7 separate regions of the Homo sapiens genome follow, and regions 2, 3, 4, 5, 6 and 7 are each linked to region 1. Evidence: promoter capture Hi-C in 16 types of primary human blood cells and fetal thymus (Javierre and others, 2016). All regions are on one chromosome and are shown on one strand. Each heading gives the region's core, a stretch centred on a gene start or on the middle of the fragment in contact. The rest is flanking DNA. Distances are from core to core; before and after follow the strand shown. Region 1 holds the start of LTO1 (LTO1 maturation factor of ABCE1). Region 2 holds the start of CPT1A (carnitine palmitoyltransferase 1A). Region 3 holds the start of MRPL21 (mitochondrial ribosomal protein L21). Region 4 has its middle 33 kb from the start of MRGPRD. Region 5 overlaps MRGPRF (MAS related GPR family member F). Region 6 overlaps LOC124902701 (a long non-coding RNA gene). Region 7 overlaps TPCN2 (two pore segment channel 2).

Evidence for each region. Contacts are between HindIII fragments. The CHiCAGO score rates a contact against its expected background, and 5 or more counts as called.
Region 2: the fragment with the promoter of CPT1A here is called in contact with the fragment with the promoter of LTO1 in region 1 in 16 of 17 cell types (monocytes, total B cells, erythroblasts and 13 more); the score reaches 14.0 in monocytes.
Region 3: a contact is called between the fragment with the promoter of MRPL21 here and the fragment with the promoter of LTO1 in region 1, in 8 of 17 cell types (total B cells, naive B cells, M2 macrophages and 5 more). The highest score is 8.4, in total B cells.
Region 4: a contact is called between a fragment that was not itself captured here and the fragment with the promoter of LTO1 in region 1, in 4 of 17 cell types (erythroblasts, megakaryocytes, M1 macrophages and 1 more). The highest score is 6.8, in erythroblasts.
Region 5: a contact is called between a fragment that was not itself captured here and the fragment with the promoter of LTO1 in region 1, in 1 of 17 cell types (monocytes). The highest score is 7.2, in monocytes.
Region 6: a fragment that was not itself captured here is called in contact with the fragment with the promoter of LTO1 in region 1 in 1 of 17 cell types (monocytes); the score reaches 5.8 in monocytes.
Region 7: a fragment that was not itself captured here is called in contact with the fragment with the promoter of LTO1 in region 1 in 14 of 17 cell types (naive CD8 T cells, activated CD4 T cells, naive CD4 T cells and 11 more); the score reaches 11.9 in naive CD8 T cells.

Annotation. Positions count from the first base shown.
Region 1 is chr11:69,673,982-69,676,646 of GRCh38, reverse strand. It overlaps LTO1 (LTO1 maturation factor of ABCE1), which reads left to right and starts at 1,294. Exons shown (of 5, transcript NM_153451.3): 1 at 1,294-1,457. The coding sequence starts at 1,408. RefSeq lists enhancers at 933-1,132, 1,002-1,502 and a silencer at 1,623-1,712. The HindIII fragment of the contact is 5,284 bases long and covers 1-2,665 here.
Region 2 is chr11:68,840,588-68,843,252 of GRCh38, reverse strand. CPT1A (carnitine palmitoyltransferase 1A) reads left to right here and starts at 1,337. Exons shown (of 19, transcript NM_001876.4): 1 at 1,337-1,478. RefSeq lists an enhancer at 418-943 and silencers at 1,089-1,448, 1,469-1,518, 1,729-1,808, 2,069-2,168, 2,219-2,498. The HindIII fragment of the contact is 25,295 bases long and covers 1-2,665 here.
Region 3 is chr11:68,902,488-68,905,152 of GRCh38, reverse strand. It overlaps MRPL21 (mitochondrial ribosomal protein L21), which reads left to right and starts at 1,321. Exons shown (of 7, transcript NM_181514.2): 1 at 1,321-1,430. The coding sequence starts at 1,343. IGHMBP2 (immunoglobulin mu DNA binding protein 2) reads right to left here and starts at 1,262. Exons shown (of 15, transcript NM_002180.3): 1 at 1,115-1,262. The coding sequence starts at 1,200. RefSeq lists enhancers at 780-839, 1,170-1,289, 721-1,448. The HindIII fragment of the contact is 5,018 bases long and covers 866-2,665 here.
Region 4 is chr11:68,947,140-68,949,804 of GRCh38, reverse strand. No RefSeq gene overlaps it. Among named protein-coding and RNA genes, the nearest start is that of MRGPRD, 33 kb to the left of the region's middle. RefSeq lists an enhancer at 2,306-2,665. The HindIII fragment of the contact is 1,232 bases long and covers 744-1,975 here.
Region 5 is chr11:69,005,404-69,008,068 of GRCh38, reverse strand. It overlaps MRGPRF (MAS related GPR family member F), which reads left to right. Exons shown (of 3, transcript NM_145015.5): 3 at 1,808-2,665. Among named protein-coding and RNA genes, the nearest start is that of MRGPRF-AS1, 5.6 kb to the left of the region's middle. RefSeq lists an enhancer at 1-450. The HindIII fragment of the contact is 8,290 bases long and covers 1-2,665 here.
Region 6 is chr11:69,035,079-69,037,743 of GRCh38, reverse strand. It overlaps LOC124902701 (a long non-coding RNA gene), which reads left to right. Exons shown (of 2, transcript XR_007062753.1): 2 at 259-728. Among named protein-coding and RNA genes, the nearest start is that of TPCN2, 13 kb to the left of the region's middle. The HindIII fragment of the contact is 8,914 bases long and covers 1-2,665 here.
Region 7 is chr11:69,052,816-69,055,480 of GRCh38, reverse strand. It overlaps TPCN2 (two pore segment channel 2), which reads right to left. Exons shown (of 25, transcript NM_139075.4): 2 at 1,384-1,448; 3 at 684-760; 4 at 129-306. Among named protein-coding and RNA genes, the nearest start is that of TPCN2, 5.2 kb to the right of the region's middle. RefSeq lists enhancers at 1,043-1,172, 1,847-2,420. The HindIII fragment of the contact is 3,802 bases long and covers 1-2,665 here.

The sequences.
Region 1 (2,665 bases), core at 45-2,544:
TTTATTCATACGGATGAAAAAGTTTAGGATTTTGACACATTTTACCAGATCTCATGGAATTTTCTTTGGTACTGCACTTGTTCAGTTCCCCAATCCTCAATCATGGTAGAGCTGTAGTTTTCCTTATATGGGTCCTGCTCAAATTGTTAGAAATTCTTATTTCTAAGAAATGTATTATGACTATCATAAGGCGATTTTCCCATCACCACCCCTGCTCAGGTTACTACCAATTATTGTTGGAATAACAGAAAGTGTTTTTTTCCCTATTCATCATACACATAGCTACTTGCTGCGATTATGGATTCTGAGAACGTCTTAGGTGACTATTTGGGTTTTCCACGTGGGCCATCATATCTGCAAATAGTAGTATTTCTGCCTTTTTTTTTTTTTTTTTTTTTTTTTGGTATTTCCACTTCTTGCTTCATGTTTTACTGCATTGGCCAGGGCTGGTAGAAAGATGTTCAGTGGTCACGTGAGGTTTTACTACTGACTTTATTAGGAATGCTTCTGGTGTTTCTCATCTGAGTTCCGTTGTCGCTTAGACTTTGAAATCCCTTTTTAAAAATCGTGTTCAGAAAGCACATCTCATGGAAATGACAAATATGAGAACTAAAACCGACAAATTTCTGCCCAAAATCCCACATGCAGAGCCTCCTGGCCTGGAGCCTCCTGAGGCGTCGGTTCTTTGATGACTTCCCATTTCTTTTCCCTTTTTTTTTTTTTTTTTGACGGAGTCTGGCTCTGTCGCCAGTCTGGAGTGCAGTGGTGCGATCTCGGCTCACTGCAACCTCCGCCTCCCAGCTTCCAGTGATTCTCCTGCCTCAGCCTCCCGAGTAGCTGGGATTACAGGCGCCTGCCACCATGCCCGGCTAATTTTTGTATTTTCAGTAAAGACGAGGTTTCACCATGTTGGCCAGGCTGGTCTCGAACTCCCGAACTCAGGTGATCCGCGCGCCTCGGCCTCCCAAAGTGCTGGGATGACAGGCGTGAGCCACCGCGCCAGCTGATGACTTCCCATTTCTTCCTTGGTTCTTTCGGAGCCACTTTGGGAAATTCGGTTCTATCTGCAGTGGTAAAATACAGGTCGGCTCTCCACGCGCGCGGCCAATGGACGCTCCCAGCGCGGACAGACAGGCCCTTTGCTGGAGCTGGGCAGGGCGAAAGGACCCCAGGGCGGGGCTTCAGTCGAGGCCGGCCCCGCCCACCGCTGCAGCCGCGCATGCGCCATGTACAGGCTGCTTTGGGCCCTCCCGCGTGCCGTTCTTACCCGGCCTGCCCCGCGCCGCCGCTTCCGGAAGTGGGTCTCGTCTCCTCCCAAGCGGAGCATTTGTGCCTGAAGCTGCCGGGTCTGCTACGGCACCGCGGGGCTGCAGAAACCCGGGGGCCAAGGGCGGGCTGCTTGCCGCTATGGCTGGCAGTCAGGACATATTCGATGCCATCGTGATGGCGGATGAGAGGTGGGTGGTGAGGCCGGGCCCGCACCCCGCCCTGTCTGGTCGTCTCCCAGCGGCTTCGCCGCCGGCTGCGGCCCAGGGCGGCTGCTGGAGCCTGGCGTCCCTTGGGCGTGCGCATTGGGGAGCGCCTGGTGGCCGTGGACGCAGGGACAAGTGTGGGCCTGATGCTCTGGTCCTCTTCTCCTGGCCCGCTCCGGCGGGGCACGTGCCCAGCTGCTCTTCCAGACCCGCCTTCCCTGTCAGGGCTGCCCCAAACATCTGCTCAGCCTGGTGGTTCCCCTCCTCCGAGGCCGCCTCGTCCTCTGGGAGGACAGACCTTTGCCATCTGGGAGCTGCCTTTTTTTCTGGTTCCTTAATCATAGGACATACGGCAGTATTCATGGATGTGCTGATAGATGTACCCGACCACACCCCTTTTCCCTCCAGAGCCCCTGGGGAGCCCCTCGTGCTGCGACAGTGGGGGAGCTGTGAGTTGCCTCCTGGCTGACTTCCAGTGCCCGGCCCAGAGGACGCGTCCATAGATGTTAGTTAAGAAAGCGGCCGAACATTTAGCAGTCAGGCGCTGACGTTTATTTAGCTCGCGCTGTGAGTCAGACACTGAGCTAAACGTTCCACCCTGGTTATCTACTTCAGCCCTACTTAGTAAGTGGATCCTATTATTCTTCGGAATTTACAGACTAGGAGGCACAGTCACTTTCCAGGGTCACACAACTATTAAGTGGGGAGCTATGCACCCTGCTTCATGGGGCGCTGCAGCCCACTCCTTGCATGTTTGGTGACTGCAGGTTAAGATAGTGGCAGTTCCACTGTTGGGCCTCAGGGTCAGTGCTACTCCGGGTACCAGTCGGAGAACATTTTGTGGTGATCTGATGCCATTTCTCTCTGTTGCCCTACCCATGTGATGTCAAACCCTGTGTATGTTGCAGTTTTTTGGAAGCGGTTGACTTGGGCTAGTGCTACTTGAACACTCACAGAACTTTGGCCCCCTAACTCTGGCTGCAAACCAGACTTATCTAGGAGACTTTGAAAAGTAGATTCCGGGCCAGATGCGGTGGCTGACGCCTGTAATCCCAGCACTTTGGGAGGCCGAGGCGGGCGGATCACGAGGTCAGGAGATCCAGACCATCCTAGCTAACATGGTGAAACCCCGTCTCTACTAAAAATACAAAAAATTAGCCGGATGTGGTGGTGGGCGCCTGTAGTCTCAGCTA
Region 2 (2,665 bases), core at 88-2,587, 830 kb after region 1:
AGAGACCTGTCTACGACGTAAGCCAAGTGAAAACAAAACAGCCTTACAGACAGCTTGCATCCTAGCCTTCCTTTAAAACAGCGAGCCCGGGAACCGCAGGGAGAGTTAACTGCAGCGGTGGTGGGGGGCGGGATCAAAGGAGAACTTTCATTTTCTCTTCTAAATTCTTCTGCGGTAACAACTAAATGATACAGAAAGAAGGATGGTTGCAAACATGGATTTTTTCATAACTAGAAGAAGTGGTCGAACTTAAAAAGAGCAGGGTTCATAAAAGAGGTTTAAAAGAGTCTTTGTTCATAACATCGGTGCATTTATGGAGCACCTGCTGTATGCAGAGCCGCCAGCTCGCGCCTGGAAGCATTGCGGGCAAAGATAGGGGAGGGGTGGCTCCCGGTCAGGAAGACCCCCTTGGCCCTCCTGTTACGCTTGGGGCCCCTCTCCCTCCCCCTCAACCCCCTGGGTCCCCTGCAGCTGCGCTCGCCCTAGACTCCTGGGACCGGTGGATGTTCAGTTCCCGCTCCCGGCCCCTCTCCCGAGCTCCAGCACAAGGGTCTCTCGGTCGCTCTGCCCTGGCCTCCAGCTACTCCTCTCCCAGCACCTATTATGTTCTTGACGCTGGAAGAATTATTTTAGTAAATCTCACCAAAGCCCCCCAAGTGAGGCATTTTTATCCTAGCTAGATGAGGAGGAGCCACGCTGCCTCTGGATCGCGATGACTGCCACTCGTGGTATAAGGTCTGATTTGGGGCATGGGCTGTGGAATCAGATCTGGACCCAATGTCCGATCTATCACTTCCCCGCGCTTTTTTTTTTAGAGACGGGGTCTCGCTACGTTGCCCAGGCTGGCCTCGAACTCCTGGCTTCAAGCGACTTCCCGCCTCCCGAGTAGCTGGGATTACAGGCGCGCCCCACCACTCCCTGTGGATCGGTTGCTTCTCAGCTCGGTGATGTGGGGTAACTTATTTCCTGGCCCGCGACCCTTGTCTGCATGAAAGAGTCAGGGGTGAATACCATCAGGGGGTGCCTGGAGCATTACACGGGGCAATGCCGATAGATAAGTCGCGAGGATCAGCCAGGCACGGAGCTAAGCGATTTTATGCGCACGGCCTCCACGAGATGGCTCGTTTTACGGATGAGGAAACTGAGGCTCGGAGGGTGAGGAATCTCGTCCTAGACCCCATTCCGGCAGAGGTCGAGGACGCGAGCACCCGCTCGAGCCTCAGTTTCCCTCCCCTCCTAGCCCCGCGGACGCCCCGCCCCGCCGAGGCCCCGGGCCCGCCCTCCGCGCGCCGGGAGTCACCCGCCTGCAGGCGCCGCAGCCGGACCCGCCTCAGCCAATCCGCTGCTGCCGGCGTCGGGTGCGCTCGGCCTCGCCCGCGGCCCTCCTTCCCCGGCTCCCGCTCGCCGCTCGTTCACTCCACCGCCGCCGCCGCCGCCGCCGCTGCCGCTGCCGCTGCCGCACCTCCGTAGCTGACTCGGTGAGGCCCGGTCGCCCGCGGTGGGGAGGGTGGCGGGGCGGCCCTGCGGGCTGCGGGGGCCGGGGACGGGCGGGGCGCGGGGCTGCCGGGAACCGGACCGGGTGGGGGACGCCGCCGGAACCGGGGCGCCGAGAGGAACCCCGGTATTCCCCCCGGACGGCGGGGTTGTGGAGATCCTGAACCCAGAAAGAGGCCGGGGCTCCCCATGTTCCCCAGGGGATTGGGTCTGAGGGTCCACCGGGGGTCGGTCCATCCGCAGGCGGGTCCCGTGCGGCCGCGGGAGGGATGCTCGGCCCTCCGGACTTGGCTGGACGCCTCCGGCCCGGGGCCAGCGGGGCCACCGGCTCCCTTGTCTCCCACTCCTTAATCCGCCCTGGACTGGATTGAGTCTGAGGGTCTGCCCAGGGGTCGGTCAGCCTGCGGGTGGCCGCGGGAGGGATGCTGGACGCTCTGGATGCTTTCCAGGATGCCTTCGCCCGGGGCCAGTAGGGCCTCCGGCTCCTGTCCCTGCCCATCCCACCCTGGCTCTGGAGAGGATTGGGTCTGGGGGTCCGCCCGTGGGTTGGTCACCTACGGGCAGGTGCAGTGCGGCTGAGGGAGGGGTGCTCGGCCCTCGGGATTCGGCAGGGCGCCGCTGACCCCATCCCAGCGTCCGTCTCCCCGGTCCCCCTCCCCATGCCCGCCCTCGCGGTGCAGCCGTCGGGACACGCCCTTGGCGCAGGGACTCCAGGCGCGGTCCGAGCGCTGCCGTGAGCAGGATGAGGGTGCCGGGCCCAGTGCCTGCTTGGGAGCGCCCCGCAGCCTCTCCCGTGCAGCGCTGGGTCAAGGGCGGGTGGGCGCGGAGCATGTGCCCAAGGTCGTGCCGGGCTGGGAGCGGCGGGGCCGCGGGAGGGTGGGGGTGTCACGTGGCCGTGCCCTGGCGAACTTGGCCTGCGAGCCCGACGGTGCGGTCAGGGCCACGCGGGGCAGCCCCTTCTCGGAGCCACCGCCGCGGCCAGCCAACAGCCGGCTTCTTTCGGTTTGTCAGGAGAGGCCATGGGTCAGCGTCTTTATAATGTAAATCCGCCCTTGGCTTTCGTTAAAGCCGCAGAACTCAAAGATGAGGGCCGATCTTACTTTAAAAAAAGAAAACAACTCAGAGAGTTAAAAATCCCAACTACCTACCAGGTTAAATACATAACAAAGTT
Region 3 (2,665 bases), core at 72-2,571, 770 kb after region 1:
CCCTCTCTGTCTCCATCTCCTTAGACGGAAAATGACAGTAACAGAAACCTACACTGCGGCCGGGCACGGTGGCTCACGCCTGTAATCCCAACACTTTGGGAGGCCAAGGCGGGCAGACCACGAGGTCAGGAGATCGAGACCATCCTGGCCAACATGGTGAAACCCTGTCTCTACTAAAAATACAAAAAATTAGCAGGACGTGGTGGCGCGCCTGTAGTCCCAGCCACTCAGGAGGCTGAGGCAGGAGAATCGCTTGAACCCGGGAGATGGAAGCTGCAGTAAGCCGAGATCGTGCCACTGCACTCCAGCCTGGGCGACAGAGAGAGACTCTGTCTAAAAAAAAAAAAAAGAAAAAGAAAAAAAAGAAACTTACACTGTAGGGTTGGCATGGGATGAGGTGTAAAAGAATTAACGCATGGAAAGTACGTAAGTGTTAGCTCTGATTGTTTTGGACAAGTAAATAGTCCCATTCGGAAACAAGCCCGGCTCTCACATGGCTCCCCACACCTCTCAGGACGGCTCCCCACCCTACTCCGCACCCACCAGCTTAACTCCAATTTTCCTTCAGGCACCACTCCCTCCTTGAAGCCACCATGACCCTCCCCAGGGAAGGGCCTTCCTCCTCCAGGCTCTTTCCCCGCGACACGCACGCAGCCGGCCCTGGACGCACTGGAGGGGAAGGGACTCTCTGCTTATGCCCAGCCCGCCGCTGGCCGGATCGGGGGCAGCCAGTGCACCTGACTCATGCTGCCGGGGCCTGACTGAGAATGGGCGCAAACCATGTTTACTGAATGAATAAGGGAAAGGGCTGCTAACTCGCTGCGGGTGGAACTGGGGTCGGGGCCAGGGCCCAGGAGTGTAAGCTTAGTGGGGGGTCTCGGGTCGGGAAATCAAAGTGCTTCTTAAGGGTCCCCAAACGGAACGCGCTGCCCAGGAAGTGATGAGACTGACAACTCGGGAGGTGGCCAAGCAGGGGACGGACGATCCCTGCCCCTGACTCGAAGGGTCGGAGACGAAATTCCCGCCCCAGACTATGAGGCCGAGCCCCTCGGAGACTCTGCCCGGGACACGGCGGGACCGACCGCGAGGGAGCGGCGCCGGCGGCCTCCCGTACCTGCGCTCCTCCACCTCCGCGTCTCTCTCAAGCTCCAGCAGGTCCAGTTGCTTGGTCACGAAGCTCTCCACAGCTGCCGAGGCCATCGCCGCCGCCGGCCTGGGCCCCTAGAAGCCGACGTCCCGCTTCTGCGCCGGGCCGGTGTTACAGCGGACCGGTGTTCCCCGCCGGGCCCGTGCGTTACGCACGCGGTTCGCGTCGTTTCCGTTTCCGGCCGAGGCTGCGGCCATGGCAGCATCTTCCCTGACGGTCACCTTAGGGCGGCTGGCGTCCGCGTGCAGCCACAGCATCCTGAGACCTTCGGGGCCCGGAGCAGGTGAGACCTGGGATATGGGAGGAAGGGAGGACGCAGAGCGAGCGCTGCTCCCTGCGGTCTCGCCACGTATGTGCCTGGGTCCGACCTGGTGCCTTGTGTGTTGATCGCATTTGTGGTGAATATAGCACGGGTTTTGGAGTCGGGGGAACCCAGGTTCAGATTTTGATTCCTTCAGTTAGTAGCCTGAATACTGACAATAGCCCTTGAACTTTGGTATAGGCCCTATGTTATGGGGGAGAAGAGTGAGGCTCAGAGGAGCTAGGTAACGTGCCCAGGGTCACACAGCGGGGAAGTGGAAGAAGAGTACTTCAGGCGCAGTCATTTCGGCTCCAAAGCCTGTGCTTGAACCACTGCCCCCAGGCTGCGAGCTGGTCTGAAAAATGGTGATGGATATCCTCGCCTAATCTGAACTCATTCTGCAAAAGAAACAGCCGTATTTAAGGCGCTGGGCTGATACGAGGCTCCAAAAAGGTTATGTCCGTTAAAAACTCTATAAATCTCTGCTTGAAAATGGTTGGAGTGTGTATTTGTGTGCATGAGTGTTTATGTATGTTTTAAACCTGGGTTTCATGTCTCACCATGACCCCCAAAAATGGAAAACTGGATCTAACTCTATATTGGACGATATTAAAAGAATAGTACCATAATTCCCAAAACTTGGAAGCAACCCAGATGTCCTTCAGGAGATGAATGGTTACATAAACTGTAGGACATCCATACAGTAGAATATTATGCAGCAATAAAAAGAAATGAGTCATGAAGAGACATGGAGGAAACTTACATACATGTTACTAAGTAAAAGAAGCCAACCTGAAAAGGGGACATCTTGTATGTTTCCCACTATGACATTCTGGAAAAGGCAAATCTAAGGAGACAGTAAAAAGTTACATGGGGGGTAAGAGGATTGGGGGAGAAAAGGATAAATAGGTGGAGCTCAGAGGATTTTTAGGGCAGTGAAACTATTCTGTATGATATAATGGTAGATACATGTCATTATAAGTTTGTCCAAATCCATAGAATGTACACTACCAAGGGTGAACCCCTAATGTAGACTATGGACTTTGGATAACAATGATGTGTCAATGTAGGTTCATCAATTGTAAAGATTGTACCACTCTGGTGAGGGATGTTGATAGGAAGCTGTGGGCACATGGACAGGGGACATATGGGAACTCTCTGTACCTTCCACTCAATTTTGGTGTGAAACTAAAACTGTGCTAAAAAATAAAGTCTAT
Region 4 (2,665 bases), core at 110-2,609, 730 kb after region 1:
CTCACGCCTGTAACCCCAACACTTTGGGAGGCTGAGGTGAGAGAATCACTTAGCCCAGCAGACCAGTCTGGGCAACAAAGACCCTATCTCTACTAAAAATTTTTTTAAAAAATTATCTGGGCATGGTGGCATGTGTCTGTAGTCCCAGCTACTCAGGAAGCTGAGGTGGGAGGATCTCTGGAGCCCAGGAGGTCGAGGCTACAATGAACCGTGATTGTGCCACTGCACTCCAGCCTGGCCAACAGAGCAAGACCCTGTCTCAAAAAACAAAGTCTCTGCAAAAGATAACTTAAATATTATAGAGCAACAGTCTCCAGCCTTTTTGGCACCAGAGACCGGTTTCGTGGAAGATAATTTCTCCATGGGCCAGGCCGTGGGGCGGCAGGGGGAATGATTTCAGGATGACCCAAGCGCATGACATTTATTGCACACTTTATTTCTATTATTGACATTGTAATATATAATAAAATAATTCTACAATTCACCATAATGTAGAATCAGTGGGAGCCCTGAGCTTCTTTCCCTGCAACTAGACAGTCCCATCTTAGGGTGATGGGAGACAGTGACAGATCATCAGGCATCAGAGTCTCATAAAGGAGCACGCAGCCTGGATCCCTCGCATGCGCAGTTCACAATAGGGTTCGCGCTCCTATGAGAATCTAACGCCGCCGCTGATCTGACGGGAGGCGGAGCTCGGGCGGTGACGCGAGCAGTGAGGAGTGGCTGTAAATACAGATGAAGCTTCACGGGTGCACCCACCACTCACCTCCTGCTGTGAGGCCCAGTTCCTAACAGGTCATGGACCCGTACCCCTGGGACCCCCTGATCTAGAGAAACATCCATGTAAAGTTAGCGGATTGAACACACACATCTACATAAGGCCACTAAATAAATTGATGCCACAGAATCACCTAAAGGCTCAGGAACTGGGGGCCTTGGGAGCCCAAGAAGTGGGGTGGGAAGGAGCTAAAATAAGGCGGGTGGATGGAAGTCTTTAAAAGAAGCAATCAGTCATGGAGACAGAAAATGAACAGAGATTCCAGGGGCTGGGGGGTTGGTATTTGATGGGGATGGAGTTTCCATGTGGGAAGATGAGAAAGTTCTGGAGACAGATGGTGGTGATGGTTGCACAATGCTGGGAATGTAAGGGATGCCGCTGAGTTGTACACTTGCTTACACAATGGTTAAAATGTTAAATTTCATGTTATAGATATTTTACAATTTTTATGAAAGCAGCAGCAATCAGATCTTCTAATCCCATCTGCTACTCAGAGAAGCCTCCTCCTCTACTCTGAGAAAAGACCAAATACCCGACTAGGCTCTGCAGTGGGTAAAACAGAATGAGTCTGCCTGAGGGTCCCAAGGCATAGCTGGGCGGGGGAACCCCGTACTGAGTGGAGGGTGAGTAAGCAGGTGTATGAACAGAGACTGTGATTGCAACCTGGCACATCCAGGGGGAAAGACTTCTGGTCCCTGGCTCAACGGCCGGGCAGCTGATGCCTCAGTGAAGCCCACAGTCAGCGAGCCCTCCGCACGGTCTTGGAGAGTCAGTCCCTGGCTGATAGGAGGGGACAACTACCAGAATCTGCAGAAAGCCACGATGCGAAAGGCAGACGGAAGCCATTTGTAATCGAAACACTGCAGGAAAAAGAAAGCAGCAAACAATACAAAACCACACCCACAGACAGAAAAGAGAAGACGCAGCCCCACAGGGAGAGCACTGCAAAAAGGGACATGAGGGAAGGGCTCTTCGATGCTGAAAGGAAAATGGTGTGAATTTTTAAAACCTAAACAAAAATAAAATGGTTGGAAAATAAGGCTGAGGAACATCTCATTGTTTAAAAAAGGAAGAGATGGAGAGATAGAAAACAGGAAAAAAGATGTAAGAAGGCCAGAGGCAGTGGCGCACGCCTGTAATCCCAGCCCTTTGGAAGGCTGAGGCAGGTGGATCACTTGAACCCTGGAGGCTGAAGCTTCAGTGAGCTATAATCGCACCAGTGCACTCCAGCCTGGGTCACACACTGAGACCCTGACTCAAAAGCAGCGACGGCCTGGTGCGGTGGCTCACGCCTGTAATCCTAGCAGTTTGGGAGGCCGAGGCGGGTGGATCACTTGAGGTCAGGAGTTCGAAATTAGCCTGGCCACATGGCAAAAACCTGTCTCTACTAAAAGTATAAAAACATTAGCTGGGTGTGGTGGCGGGCACCTGTCATTCCAGGTGTAATTCCAGCTACTCGGGAGGCTGAGGCAGGAGAATCGCTTGAACCCAGGAGGCGGAGGTTGCAGTGAGCTGAGATTGCGACACTGCACTCCAGCCTGGGCAACAAGAGCAAAACTCCATCTCAAAAAACAGCAACAACAACAAACCCAGAAACTGATTCTCTCTCTTCAAGATAAAATCTCGAGGGGCGGCCCTGTCCTGCCACTTCCAGCTTCTGGGGGCTCCACGTTCCTTGGCCTGTGGCTGCACCACGCCAGCCTCTGCCTGTGTTTGCAGGCAGCCTCCTTCTCTTCTCACATGTCTCTTAGACGGACACCTGTCATTGGATTTAGGGACCATCCAGGTAACCCGGGATGATCTCCTCTCAAGAACCTTTACTTAATTACATCTGCGAAGACTCTTTTCCCAGATAAGGTCACATTCGCAGGTTTGGGGATTAGCATA
Region 5 (2,665 bases), core at 70-2,569, 670 kb after region 1:
AGCAGGCTGCCCGCTTCGCTCAAGAGAGGGGCTCTCAGATTTGCCACTGTGCTCCCTCTCACCTGTTCCTTGCACCTGGCCCACCTGCATGCATTTATACACAAGCCTAGACCCTGAGGGCAGGACCGATACTCAGCTGGGATGCACTCTTACAGCCACACCAACAGTTAAAGTATTGAAATGCTTCCCTGCAGCTTGATAAATAGCTGCTGCCTCTCCTCCACCCCAGGGACCCCCTGGACTTTCCCACAATCTGGAAACCCCAGGGGCAACCCTGGCTCATCAGGAAGCCACCTCCCATCCCACTAGAGGACAGGGTCCAGCTCCGGGGAAGGCCGAGATCCACTCGTTGTTTTTTTTTAAATGTAACTTACAAGTGATTTTATTTCTTCAAATAGTTTCGTGTTTGTTGAAACATTGCAAGATTTTGCAAGAATAGTACAATGCCCGCCAATACCTCACCTCAGCTCAGTCATCGTTAACCCTTCACCACAAGTGCTTTCTCTCTATCTCTTGACAGATAGGCTTTTTTTCCCAGAATGATTTGAAAGTAAATTGCAAGGCTGGGTGCGGTGGCTCACGCCTCTAATCCCAGCACTTTGGGAGGCCAAGATGGGCGGATCACCTGAGGTCAAGAGATCGAGACCAGTCCGGCCAACATGGTGAAACCCCATCTCTACTAAAAATACAAAAATTAGTCAGGCATGGCGGTGCGTGCCTGTAGTCCCAGCTACTCGGGAGCCTGAGGCAGGAGAATTGCTTGAACCTGGGAGGCGGAGGCTGTAGTGAGCCAAGATCGGGCCACTGCACTCTAGCCTGACAAAGCAAGACTCTGTCTCAAAAACAAACAAACAAACAAAAGTAAATTGCAGACACCAAGCCCTTGATGCCCAAATAGCCTGTATCTTCTAAGAACAAGGACGTTCCCGTAGCCACATAGTGAAAATGTGCGTAGCCACAGTACATTGTCACATTCAAAAGCTGCAACACCGATGCAATGCCATTATCTCTGCATCGTCCATACTCACATTTCCCCAGTGGTCCCAACGATATCCTCTGCAGCAGTTGTTGAGATCCAGCGTATAATCCAGGATTCTAACACTGTGTTTAGGAGTCATGTCTCTTTGCTCTTCTTAAAAATGGAAAGGCTCAGCCAGGCGCAGTGACTCACGTCTATAATCCCAGCACTTTGGGAGGCAGGTGGATCACTTGAGGTCAGGAGTTCGAGACCATCCTGGCCAACACGGCGAAGCCCCGTCTCTACTGAAAATACAAAAATTAGCCGGGCATGGTGCCGCGTGCCCGTAGTCCCAGCTACTCAGGAGGCTGAGGCAGGAGAATCGCTTGAACCTGGGAGGCAGAGGTTGCAGTGAGCCGAGATCGTGCCACTGCACGCTCCAGCCTGGTGACAGAGTGAGACTCTGTCTCAAAAAAAAAAAAAAAAAAAAAGGGAAAGGCTCTGCAGTTTTTTGTGCGACTTGGACGTTTTTTGGACAGTCTACTCTGACCGGTGGGCAGCCTGGCACCCTTCCTGGGCACTGTCTGGTGCTACCTCTACTCCTATAGGCACCATTGTGTGCTGCTAGCTCTAGACGCTGGGACGGAGAGTTAACATCAGGTGAGGTCAGGGGCGTTTGAGGATAGAGTTGCAGCCAGTTAGCTGCTCCACAGCCACTGCCTTACAGACCCCCTCCCTGCCCCAAGTCCCTAATTGGGACCCCCCCCCTCCCCCACGCTGGGCCCCAGATGCAGGTCTGTGGGTGGGGGCCAGCCGGCATCACAGGTGTCCCTCTCTGCACCTGCGCAGATGTGCCCTGGCCTGAGCGAGGCCCCGGAACTCTACAGCCGGGGCTTCCTGACCATCGAGCAGATCGCGATGCTGCCGCCTCCGGCCGTCATGAACTACATCTTCCTGCTCCTCTGCCTGTGTGGCCTGGTGGGCAACGGGCTGGTCCTCTGGTTTTTCGGCTTCTCCATCAAGAGGAACCCCTTCTCCATCTACTTCCTGCACCTGGCCAGCGCCGATGTGGGCTACCTCTTCAGCAAGGCGGTGTTCTCCATCCTGAACACGGGGGGCTTCCTGGGCACGTTTGCCGACTACATCCGCAGCGTGTGCCGGGTCCTGGGGCTCTGCATGTTCCTTACCGGCGTGAGCCTCCTGCCGGCCGTCAGCGCCGAGCGCTGCGCCTCGGTCATCTTCCCCGCCTGGTACTGGCGCCGGCGGCCCAAGCGCCTGTCGGCCGTGGTGTGCGCCCTGCTGTGGGTCCTGTCCCTCCTGGTCACCTGCCTGCACAACTACTTCTGCGTGTTCCTGGGCCGCGGGGCCCCCGGCGCGGCCTGCAGGCACATGGACATCTTCCTGGGCATCCTCCTGTTCCTGCTCTGCTGCCCGCTCATGGTGCTGCCCTGCCTGGCCCTCATCCTGCACGTGGAGTGCCGGGCCCGACGGCGCCAGCGCTCTGCCAAGCTCAACCACGTCATCCTGGCCATGGTCTCCGTCTTCCTGGTGTCCTCCATCTACTTAGGGATCGACTGGTTCCTCTTCTGGGTCTTCCAGATCCCGGCCCCCTTCCCCGAGTACGTCACTGACCTGTGCATCTGCATCAACAGCAGCGCCAAGCCCATCGTCTACTTCCTGGCCGGGAGGGACAAGTCGCAGCGGCTG
Region 6 (2,665 bases), core at 90-2,589, 640 kb after region 1:
GCATGTCTTTTGGAACCAGCAGTGGAGAAAGACTTATTCTTGGTGGGGACAGTGATGTTGGCTCAGCCTGAGGGTCCCTTATGTCCTGCCAAGGCCGAGGGCTGGTGCCATCGACTGGGAGCTTTTTCTCCCAAGGCACTCAGAGGTTGCACCTAACTTGGTTTGAATATCAGAAATACCTCCCTGGGTTTCCAAAAACTGCCCCAGTTGTGTTACTTTGGCCAAAGTGCCCATCATCTCTCCCCCTTTATTTTATAGGAGGAAGAAATGATGTCTTCCGGGGAGGCTGCCGGGGCTTCTGTGAGGTCCAGCAATGAGTTGGAGGCACCAGCACTGCACTGAAATCAATGTCTCCCAAGACGGAGAATGCCTGGGGAGGCAGGAGCTCCGCTCCCCTGCAGGAACCTCCCAAGAAGGACCCGAGCGTCCCCGCAGCCTGGAGACTGGCCGTCTGCGGTTGAGCACCCGGGACCTGCTCCAGGTGCTTCTTGGCCATATTTACTTCCCCGGCTCCGGGTGCGTCAGGCCGACTGCCCACGTGCAGCTGGGTTTCCTCTGTTTAGCTGCATCCACAGGGGTCATGTATCCGTATCGGTCTTTCTAAGGGGAGCTCTGTGGTTTTATTCATTCATTCATTCATTCATTCACCCACGCATCTACTGAGCACCTACTACATATCATGAACTGTCCTAGGCACTAATGAATAACACCAAACGTGCTCATTGTAACAGTCTCTGATGATTGCTAAGATCACGTGGAAGAAAGCAAAAACCGTCAGCCTCATGGTCATGTGAGCAAAGCCTGTGCCCTGACCCACCCACCGCCAGCCCCATGAGCTCTGGCAACCCCAGGATCTCACTGAGCCTCGGTTTCTGTATCTGTAGAATGGGGATAATGATGGTGAGGGCCCAGGTTTGCAGACAGAAGGGACATGCGGTAGGGCCCCAGGCCAGGTTTCTGCCCTCCCACCCCCTTCCCTTCATGCCCATTCTCTGGGAGAAAAAAAAAAATGCTGTTTTAAAATCACCAGGTATTCTCCAATCCCTTGGGAGGCCAAGGCAGGAGGAGCACTTGGGCCCAGGAGTTCAAACCCAGCCTGGGCAACATAGGGAGACCCCATCGCTATAAAAAATTTTAAAAATTAGCTGGGTGTGATGACACATGCCTGTAGTCCCAGCTACTCGGGAGGCTGAAGTGGGAGGATCGCTTTGGCCGGGGAGGTCGAGGCTGCAGCGAGCTATGATCCCATCACTGCACTCCAGCCTGGGTGACAGAGAGAGAACTTGTCTCAAAAAAAAAAAACAAAAAAAACAAAAAAAACTCATGAGCTATTCTCCCATCCCTTGTCACACTTCAACCTTGAAACTACTGCCCAGAGCAGCCCAGGAATTATCCCTGTGTTGCACGCTGGGAAATGAAGACTCAGAGAGGCTGTGTGCGTTGTCTGAGGTCACACAGTGAGCGAGGGGCACAGTGAAAGCCAAGCCTGGCCCTGGAGGGGAAGGAGAGCGTGTGAGCTGGGCACAGGGCCCAAAAATGGGGTGTTGGTGAGCAAACCCCCTTGTCCTGCCCTGGGGACCAACCCCTGGGAAAACCAGATACTTCCCAGGCCAGGGCAGGCTGCACGTGCTATTTTGAGTTCTCTTGCATATGACACAAGCAACAGGAATTCGGGGAGACCCAGGCCATTTGCTATGTTGTGAACCAAATGGCTTGTGGTGGCAGCCAAGGAAGGGGCCGGTGGGGGACGAGAGTCACTAGGGTGGCGTCGGGAAAGTGAGGGCTGAAGTCCGAGCCCAGAGGCCTGTGGGGTTGGGGGTACAGAGAGGGGAGAAGTCTGGGAGGGGCCCCTGGGATGAAGCCCTGGGAGAGGGGTCGGGGGTGCAGAGAGGGGAGAAGGCTGGGAGGGGCCCCTGGGGTGAAGCCCCGGGAGAGGGGGTTGGGGGTACAGAGAGGGGAAAAGGCTGGGAGGGGCACTGGGGGTGAAGCCCCAGGAGAAGCAGGGGCCAGTCAGGCCTAGCTGGGAGGACAGCCAGCGGGGTGGAAGCTGGGGTCTTGCCAGCTCTTAGGCCAGGGCCCTGGACGCTCCCGCTGAGACAAGGATTTGAGCACAAGTAGTGTGTTTTGGTGGAGAGCCTGGGAAGGGTGGGAGGGAAAGAGGGAAGGGGCGCAGGGGAGGGGAGAAGCCAAATAAGGCAAGTTTTCAGCAGTGGCAGCGGGGCTAGGCCCCGTGGAGACCTCTGGGAGACCACATAGAACAAGCCTCAGAGGTATCGGGGAGGTGGGAAAGCAGGCTGTTCTCCCCACTCCCGGTGGTCCCTGGCCATGGCTGGGAGCTGTTCCTAGGGCACAGATCTCCCTGCGTGGAGGGGCGCAGGGGCCGGCAAGGGGGCACCACCAGTCTGTCCTGGGTCGGGGAGTGCAAACGTGCTGCAGGTGGCACCATGCACCCCTGCAAGGAGGCAGTGCCGAGCTCAGACCCTCCCCCGACAACCACACACAAGGAGCACCCGAGGTTTGAGGCTGAGGTGAGCTGTGATGGCATGGCAGCTCCAGCCGCGCGGCAGGGTGAGACTCTGTCTCTAAAAACAGTTTTTTAGAGACAAAGGCGGTTAGGACTTTCACTCGTCTTCTTTTCTGTTTCTTTCTTTCTTTCTTTATTTTC
Region 7 (2,665 bases), core at 105-2,604, 620 kb after region 1:
CACCGGGTCAAAGTACAAAGTCTGGGGAAAAGGCAGCTCACTCCAGAGAATCAGCAATAAACCAGGAGAGCAGCGGCCAGGCGCTGGGAGGCCGGGGCAGCACGTAGAGGGCCTGGCGCCCGCCTCACCTTCACAGAGAGGTCGGCCGCAAAGACCAGCAGGCAGAGCACCTCGACACTCTCGGTCAGGCCGCAGGGCGGCTCCCAGGGAGCAGCGCGGTAGCGCACGTCCGCCGTGCTGGTGAGTGAGGATGGGGTCTCGATAAAAGCCAAAAACAGGATCAAGAAGATGGTGAAGCTCAAAGTCCTGGAAAGGGGACAGAAACATGAAAACACAGGAGCCAGCAGCCCTCAGGGCCCAGAGGCTGGTCAGGAGCTTCCCCAGTCCGAAGCACGGGAGTTGGCGCTGCCTGAGCGTGGACACTCGTGACTGGGGAGATCACGAATCTGCTCAAAGCTCCATTGCCGAGGGCTGACCACAGCATTCCAGAAAGGAACCCTTGTTGTAGAAGGAGCCTGCCATCACAGGCCGTCTCCTTTCCAGAGAGGATGATGGTAACCGCCCTATCTATGTAGTGGGGAGCCTGCCTGGACCCTGAGACCAGGTGATCCCCAGGTGGGGGCCAGCCTCCCCTGCCACGCAAGCCGGCAGGAACCCTGAGTTCCACATGGGTGCGTTCTCACCGTTGGCATACGTTCGAGTAATACCGTCGGTAAAGCCACATCGAGCTGGCATCCACCCGGTGGTTGATGGAGCGGTACTACAAGCGAAAAGTCACATGAGGCATGACATGGGTGCATGCAGGGTGGGCCGTGACCCGAGCCCCACACCACACACGAGACAGGCCCAAGTCTCAGGCTGTGGATCACAGGGGACGCTTCAGCGTGTGGACATGGCCAGCCCTGACCCATCAGGCCCACACCATCACAAACCACGAGGTTTGCCCAACACACAAGACCTCACAGGCCACACACCCGGGGTGGGTGGGTGCGTGAGCAAACACTCAGGGAACACTTGCTGAGAGCACAGCTGTGCCCGTGTCTGCCTGCGAGGCTCTCTCTTCTCTGTGCAAGGCTGACCCTCCCACGCCCCGTGCAGCTGTGTCATCCTCCAGGATGCCCCCACCCACCCGGGACCTAGAATGGGGTGGTCCACAACAGGCCTCAGAACACGGTGCATCAAAGCAGCAAATGCGTCCAGGATGCAGAAGACAAGTCCTCCGGGGACTGACGAAGAGCCGTGCCCAGAGGCTCCACCCTCAGTTCTCTTAACCTACAGTCCAGCAATGGAGGCCTTGGACCCAGTCAGTCGCCCCTGGAGGGGCGAGCCAATCGGAGGGCGGCCACCCCCCAGGCCCGGCCACAGGGAGCAGGTGCCACCGACCTGAATAGCATCTTCGATGAAGACCACAGCCTGATCAATGCAGAGGTCCCACCTGGCCGCGGCACCTGCAGGCAGAGGGGACACATCAGGTGACCGAGCAGGATGACATGGCCTCACCCTCCAGGATACCCGTGATCAAGGAAAGATGCCGGCTGTGGTTCTTCCCAAGGCCGTTTGTAAAGAGATGACTCCACCCGGCAGTGGGGCTGCATGTACCTGCCCAGGGCAGGGACCAAACCAGGTAAGTGCCTCGGCATCAAATGCACAGGCCAGGCCCAGGGCACGGCACCTCCGCATGCAGCGCACACAACTAGCAAGCCTGTGGGAAGCGGCACATCCTGCAGGGCCCTGGCACCAGCGTCGGGGTTCAGAGCCCGGCTCCTCCACGTGCTGGCAGGAAGGCTGTGGCTGGCTCCTCCTCTGTCAAGTGGGGCTATTTACAGCCACCCAATCGGCTCCCCAGAGGGTACTGTGAGGTGCAACGCAGGAGCACAAGAGCCCCCTGCCACGCTCCCCAGGCATGCTCGGTACATGGGGCTGCTGTCACCCCTCTTCCGCTCGGCCCTACCTGGCTCCTGCACAGTCTTCATGAGCCAGGACACTGTACCCAGTGTCCCACCCACCCCCATCAAACCAGACCTCGGATTCAACAGTGACAGGGAGAACTGGCATCTAGAACCCAAAGGCACTGCCATGAGGCTTCATGAGTGCTACCAAGGTCCCATTCCCTCACTGTCCCGGTCCATGGGCCCAGGCAAGCCCACCCAAATCACTCCCAGGGTCAGAGCTGCAGGAACGCCCGAGTCCCCCAGCCTCTGCCGGTGCCTTCTGTGGTGAAGGGTGGCCGCCCGCCTTTACCAACAGCACAAGCAGGGTGGAGCCTCCCGGCAGGCCTGGGCAAAAGCGGCAGTGGCTCCTGACTAGGAGGGGCCTTCAGGAAAAGTCAGGCGGCACAGAAGCCAGGACCCAGCACCCTGGCCTGCTCACAAGCCCCTCACCTGCCACAGAGCAGCCAGCGGGCGCACCTGGTCAGCCACTGAGCCACTGCAGGGAGCCTGGGCCACCCACCCGCATCGTAGGCACGGGCCACCTCTGGCCTCGCTGCAGAGCTGCTCCCCAGCAGGCCAACAGGGAAGGAAAACTCAACCCGAAGCAACTGAGGAGCCCGGAGAGGCTGACACTTCCCAGCACGGGGAGAGGGTGAAGCAGCTGCTTTTTCAGTTGAGACTCGGCTTTCACACCTGGCCCCTTGGGGCCCACAGCTGCACCAAGACAATGTGGT